Linked DNA regions of Homo sapiens: region 2 is linked to region 1. The links are contacts of gene promoters, found by promoter capture Hi-C in human tissues and cell types (Jung and others, 2019). All regions are on one chromosome and are shown on one strand. Each heading gives the region's core, a stretch centred on a gene start or on the middle of the fragment in contact. The rest is flanking DNA. Distances are from core to core; before and after follow the strand shown. Region 1 holds the start of RFC1 (replication factor C subunit 1). Region 2 overlaps TLR6 (toll like receptor 6).

Region 1 (3,613 bases), core at 710-3,209:
TGAGACAAGGCCTCTCAAAGTGCTGGGATTATAGGCATGTGCCACCATGCTCAGTCCTATTTTGGGTCTTCAAAAATATTTCCATTCTGGATATCTATTCCTTTATAAGAAACCACTCCAATACTTATTACCTTAACAGAGCAATCATTTAATTATGTTCACGCTACTGTGGGTCAGGAAATTTGGACAGGCCTTGACTGAGTGATTTTTCTGCTCTCCCAGGTGTTGAATGGGGTCAACAAAGCTAGTGAAATTCCATCAGTTGCTGGATGGGATCTGAGATGGCTTCATTTACATGCATGGTGCCTGGTGGAGATGGCTATAAGGCTGGTCTCAGATGACCACCTCCCTGGCTTTACATGGTGCTCCAAGAGAGCAAGACAGGAGCTGCCAGTCTTCTTAAAGCTTAGGTCTGGAGTTGGCATAGTATCACTTCCATTGTATTCTTTGATCAAATCAGTCATAGGCCAGTCCAGGTTCAAGGGAGGAGTTTCAAAGCATATGCAGTCATTTTAGATCTGGTATATTTCTGAGATAGAGTATTTTCATGTAAATAAATATTCCTAAAGAAAACAATCTCACAAAGAAGTTACAGTCTCCTGACTTAAGTCTCATTTAAACTCAAGGAAGGCTTCAAATGCCAAAAAAAAAAAAAAGCAAAAGTTAAGAGGAATGTAATATAAAAGACACGTACAACTTTTTATGTCTTATTTACTCATTTATTGATTTATAACACAATGAACATTATAAATTGGTGTAGGTCCTCTAAAATTATGGGCAAAAATTTGTGTGATATGTCTGCTAAGACAAAACCGAGGCACAGTAACTTGCCCTTGGTCACATAAATAGCAGGTGGTGGGGCTGGAGACCTAGCATCCTGGCTTCAGAGGGAACAGTGCAGTGAGGCCCTGTTAATAAGTAACAGTCTGTCTGTAAATTCGGGATAAGAGTAGTCAGTGTCATCATGGGGATAAAATGAGCTAGGCTAGTCCAGAGCTGCACGTACAACAATAGGCGTTTAATAAATACAAGCTGTCAATGCTCAGCCTCTGTTGTATTCCAGGCTGTTCTATCTTTCGCCATAGAAATGTTGGTGTCATAAAGCGCAAGACCCAACAGGGGGTGGATGGGTGAGAATTTCAAAAGTGTAGCTAGAGCCAAAGCTGGAGATACTGCTTTCTCCATTGAACTCTTTATGGTCTAATCTTTCTCTTGAAATCGTACGCAAATGTTTCATTGTATTCCGTGATTCAATTGCTAATCTATTCATATACAACTGGTTTACCCCAAAGCTTTCGGTATCTTTTCTTTTTTTTGAGGCGGAGTTTCGCTCTGTCGCCCAGGCTAAAGGGCAGTAGCTCGATCTCGGCTCACTGCACCACTGCCTCCTGGGTTCAAGCAATTCTCCTGTCTCAGTCTCCCGAGTAGCTGGGACTACAGGCACACGTCACCACCCCCTGGCTAATTTTTGTATTTTTAGTAGAGACGGGGTTTCACCACATTGGTCAGGTGGTCTCGAACTCCTGACCTCAGGTGACCCACCCGCCTCGGCCTCCCAAAGTGCTGGGATTAGAGGGGTGAGCCACCGCGTCCGGCCTCTTGATGAAACCTTATTACAGAATAGATATTTATACATAATATGTAAAACGCACAGCTAAAACATTTATCTTACTAAAGTTGGTAGTAAAAACTTTTCAAAGTTACTATAGGGAAGTGCATTGTCCAGACGTGTAACCGGGAGGTACTTGGGTACCCCGCCTGCCAAGGAAACCAATATCGGATCCCCCTACTTTAGCGCCCCCGCCAAAAACCGAGCTCACACCAAAGCACCGTGGTTCCTCTCGATGTCAGCGGCCCGCCTGCCCTCGGGGCAGCACCTGGGCAGGCGTCGCACCTCCCGCCTCTGGGCGGGACGGAAGCAAAGCTCGCGCCTCCTGACGTCATCACCGCGCGCCACTGTCTTCGCCTTCTTGCACTTCGCGGGAGAAGTTGTTGGCGCGAATGGATCCTGAGCCTCGATAACAGATTCCTCAACCGGCCCACCCGCCAGCCAGCCAGCGCCTTCATCCTGGGGCTGCGATGGTGAGCCGCTGGGGGAGGCCGTGCGGCTCGGGGTCTGGGGGGGCTTTGCAGGCCTGGTGTGGACCGGGCACTCCTGGTATGCAGGGTGGGGGAGGATGGCGGTGGGTGGTTCCGGAGGCTAGCAAAGGCAGAGAAGGGGCCGCACACCGGGCACTGGACGCAAAACTTTCATTGCATCGCGGGCTCTGGCTCTGGGCGGCAGCCAGCGCGCAGGGATTTTGTTGCTACGTGTACTTGCACTTTCCCCCCGCCCCCCACTCTTGGGGGAAGGGAGAAAGGAAGAGAGGAAGGATGGTGGTTTTGGGACGCATTGGTAAAGTTATTTTCTTGTTCGGCGTTGCCCGAACCTCAGTTTGAGTACTGCCTAAAGCGTGGATTTCAAGCTTTGGGTCACGAGGGAGAAGAATGTAACAAACTTTTCTTTCTTAGGGAATATGTTGTGTAGGGCCTTAAACTTTTATCATTAACAGCTCAGCTCGTCTCATCTCCGCTCGTCATTAACGATCACCTGAGCGGTGTTGAGACCGAGGGCATGGAGAGGATATTTTATTTTGTTTAGATGAGTTCATAGGAGTCAAAAGGATAACATGGCTTACTAGGAAAAAGAAGTACAGCGAATAGAAACAGATGCAAGACATTTGACAGCTGTCATCCTCTTACCACCTGATGTTTAAAATCTGAAAAAAACCCAAGCCTCACTGCATAATTCTGGATAAAATGTTCAAACAAATTGAAAGTGAAATGATTATGCAGCCAGCAAAGCAGACATTCCTGATGGTATGGCAATGGATATGGCTCTGTGTTTGAAATATTTTTAAAGGACCATTTAAAATGTTCATTAAGCTAGAAGATACTTAACAATCCGATATAATTTTTTTCAATCATTGGTCAACGTGTCACAGTGACAACATTCTGGGGGGGGGCGGTGAAAATTTTATGCCACACTGGGAAACGTTGCAGGCCTTTGTGTTTCTTCTCAAAAAAGGGCAACAGTAATGATAGTAGCTACCTTGTACCAAGCATCTTCTTTAGGTCAATATGTGAACTGTTGGTTTTCCATGGTTTTTTTTTTTTTTTTTTTTTTTCATTTCAACCCACATCGATGCAGTTTTACAGATGGTGCAAGCACCTTTTTGGAATTTAAACAGTGTATCATATAACTAGTAGGTGGTTGAACTAGAATTAGAATCTTGGTGTTTCTGACCACCATGTTATACTACTTCCCTATAATGATCATCATTACATTTTGGAGGCCAAAGCACTGTGGTATTTTGGAAGCTTGAGACTTGGAGTCTTGAAGATGAAGAACGTGGTAATATTTTAGTTTAATGGTTTATATATTAATTTATAGTTATATTACTATGTTAGTATAGTCTAGTTTAATAGTTACGTGGTCTTGGGCAAGTAAATAGCTTAAGTTTAATCTCTTTAAGCCTCTGTTTCCTTATCTGTAAAAGAGGGGAAAATAATAGCTGCCATAGTGATTGTTTTGGGGATTAAGCAAGATGTATAGGTAAAGCTTCCGTTCTGG
Region 2 (3,613 bases), core at 704-3,203, 510 kb after region 1:
GAAGGTATATTTTTAAGAAATTTATGTAAATTACCAAATTACCCTTTAGAAAGCTTGTACTAATTTTTCATTCCTGCCTAAGTAGTAAATGAGGGTTCTTATTTTAGTTTCCACCTACCAACCTGGATATTATATTTTTTAATTTTCCCTATTTGATAGGTGAAAAAAAAATCTTGCCTTTTAAAAAATCTTTTAAGAAACAAGAGTCCTCCTTTGACCCCCTTCCTCTTTTTATGCTTAAATATCTTATAGTAAAAATAACAGGCATTCTGGAAACCTATTTCTAAAAGCTTTATTCTCTATCTCTAAAAAAATTACATTTTCCTAAAATAGCCAAATAACATTATAAAAAATTACAATTTATTTCTTAATAGCATCTAATGGCTGGTCCATCATAGAATCTGCCCCTCCTTCTGTTACTGAATATGTTTTATAGCAAGTCTGTCTTAACTGAGATCTAATCCAAGATCATGAGTTTCATCTAGATGTTATGTGCTTTTTTGATTTAACGTGCTGTTTTATTTTTTGTGAGATTGCACATTATTCATATTATTGGCAATTGATTTTTGGCAAATTATTCAGTAAATAGTACAGTAAACTTAATTTTGAATGTTAAAAGTTTGAAAAATATAGATAAAAACTAAGAGGAAAATAAAGTTCCATTATAATCTTACTGTGCAAAGATAATTACTGTTCATATCTTGGTATGTATCTTATTAATTTTTCTACTTGCATAGGTACATATTTACTTTGGTACTTTTTAAATAAACTGCTTTTTGTCACATATAGTGAAAATATTTTCATGCAATTCGATTTTTATTATTTTTAAAGGCTACATAGTACTATTTAATTATACAGAGATACTAAAATTTATTTGATAACCTGCTATTTTTGGATAATTGAGGGATTTGTTTTCAAAATAGAATTTATTTTTGCCAGGAGCAGTGGCTTGTACCTGTAACCCCAGCTCCGTGGGAGGCTGAGGTGAGAGGATGGCATGAGCCCAGGACCTTAAGCTATGATTGTGCCACTGCACTCCAGCCTGGGCAGTGGGACAAAACCCTGTCTCTTAAAAAGAAAGTGTTTAAGAAAATAGTAATGATAATAATTTATTTTGTGACGGCCACTTTATTGTAGTCTTTTATTGGTGCTAACATTTTTTCAATGACTTCTCTTTGGCTTTCCACATTGACAGTCTTATAATCTAAAAATAATAATGATTTTCTTTCTTCATTTCAGTATTTCTTCCTGTCATTTTTTTTCTTTATTACAGTGGTTAAAACTTCCGGAAAGAACAATGTGTGCATTCTTTTTTTTTTATTATTATACTTTAAGTTCTAGGGTACATGTGCACAACATGCAGGTTTGTTATATATGTATACATGTGCCATGTTGGTGTGCTGCACCCATTAACTCGTCATTTACATTACGTATATCTCCTAATGCTTTCCCTCCCCCCTCCCCCCACCCCACGACAGGCCCCAGTGTGTTATGTTCCCTTTCCTGTGTCCAAGAGTTCTCATTGTTCATTTCCCACCTATGAGTGAGAACATGCGGTGTTTGGTTTTTTGTCCTTGCGATAGTTTACGAGAATGATGGTTTCCAGCTTCATCCATGTCCCTACAAAGGACATGAACTCATCCTTTTTTATGGCTGCATAGTATTCCATGGTGTATATGTGCCACATTTTCTTAATCCAGTCTATCATTGATGGACATTTGGGTTGGTTCCAAGTCTTTGCTATTGTGAATAGTGCCACAATAAACATGTGTGTGCATGTATCTTTATAGCAGCATGATTTATAATCCTTTGGGTATATACCCAGTAATGGGATAGCTGGGTCAAATCGTATTTCTAGTTCTAGATCCCTGAGGAATCACCACACTGTCTTCCACAATGGTTGAACTAGTTTACAGTCCCACCAACAGTGTAAAAGTGTTCCTATTTCTCCACGTCCTCTCCAGCACCTGTTGTTTCCTGACTTTTTAATGATCGCCATTCTAACTGGTGTGAGACGGTATCTCATTGTGGTTTTGATTTGCATTTCTCTGATGGCCAGTGATGATGAGCATTTTTTCATGTGTCTTTTGGCTGCATAAATGTCTTCTTTTGAGAAGTGTCTGTTCATATCCTTCGCCCACTTTTTGATGGGGTTGTTTATTTTTTTCTTGTAAATTTGTTTGAGTTCATTGTAGATTCTGGATATTAGCCCTTTGTTGGATGAGTAGATTGCAAAAATTTTCTCCCATTCTGTAGGTTGCCTATTCATTCTGATGGTAGTTTCTTTTGCTGTGCAGAAGCTCTTTAGTTTAATTAGATCCCATTTGTCAATTTTGTCTTTTGTTGCCATTGCTTTTGGTGTTTTAGACTTGAAGTCCTTGCCCATGCCTATGTCCTGAATGGTATTGCCTAGGTTTTCTTCTAGAGTTTTTATGGTTTTAAGTCTAACATTTAAGTCTTTAATCCATCTTGAATTAATGTTTGTATAAGGTGTAAGGAAGGGATCCAGTTTCAGCTTTCTCCATATGGCTAGCCAGTTTTCCCAGCACCATTTATTAAATAGGGAATCCTTTCCCTATTTCTTGTTTTTGTCAGGCTTGTCAAAGATCAGATGGTTGTAGATGTGTGGTATTACTTCTGAGAGCTCTGTTCTGTTCCATTGATCTATATCTCTGTTTTGGTACCAGTACCATGCTGTTTTGGTTACTGTAGCCTTGTAGTATAGTTTGAAATTAGGTAGCATGATGCCTCCAGCTTTGTTCTTTTGGCTTAGGATTGACTTGGCAATATGGGCTCTTTTTTGACCCCATATGAACTTTAAAGTAGTTTTTTCCAGTTCTGTGAAGAAAGTCATTGGTAGCTTGATGGGGATGGCATTGAATCTATAAATTACTTTGGGCAGTATGGCCATTTTCATGATATTGATTCTTCCTATCCATGAGCATGGAATGTTTGTTTGTGTCCTCTTTTATTTCATTGAGCAGTGGTTTGTAGTTCTCCTTGAAGAGGTCCTTCACATCCCTTGTAAGTTGGATTCCTAGGTATTTTATTCTCTTTGAAGCAATTGTGAATGGGAGTCCACTCATGATTTGGCTCTCTGTTTGTCTGTTATTGATGTATAAGAATGCTTGTGATTTTTGTACATTGATTTTGTATCCTGAGACTTTGCTGAAGTTGCTTATCAGCTTAAGGAGATTTTGGGCTGAGACGATGGGGTTTTCTAAATATACTATCATGTCATCTGCAAAGAGGGACAATTTGACTTCCTCTTTTCCTAATTGAATACCCTTTATTTCTTTCTTTTGCCTGATTGCCCTGGCCAGAACTTCCAACACTATGTTGAATATGAATAGGAGTGGTGAGAGGGGGCATCTCTGTCATGTGCCAGTTTTCAAAGGGAATGCTTCCAGTTTTTGCCCATTCAGTATGCTATTGGCTGTGGGTTTGTCATAAATAGCTCTTATTATTTTGAGATACGTCCCATCAATACCTAATTTATTGAGAATTTTTAGCATGAAGAGCTGTTGAATTTTGTCAAAGGCCTTTTCTGCATCTATTGAGATAATCATGTGGTTTTTGTCTTTGGTTCTGTTTATATGCTGGATTACATTTA

The links. Contacts are between HindIII fragments. The study calls those that stand out against the background at their distance.
Region 2: a fragment that was not itself captured here is called in contact with the fragment with the promoter of RFC1 in region 1 in 1 of the 25 tissues and cell types used here (hippocampus).

The regions. Positions count from the first base shown.
Region 1 is chr4:39,364,708-39,368,320 of GRCh38, reverse strand. RFC1 (replication factor C subunit 1) reads left to right here and starts at 1,959. Exons shown (of 25, transcript NM_002913.5): 1 at 1,959-2,082. The coding sequence starts at 2,080. RefSeq lists an enhancer at 1,918-2,037. The HindIII fragment of the contact is 2,064 bases long and covers 850-2,913 here.
Region 2 is chr4:38,851,089-38,854,701 of GRCh38, reverse strand. The region is part of intron 1 of TLR6 (toll like receptor 6); the gene reads left to right. Among named protein-coding and RNA genes, the nearest start is that of TLR6, 3.9 kb to the left of the region's middle. The HindIII fragment of the contact is 5,296 bases long and covers 1-3,613 here.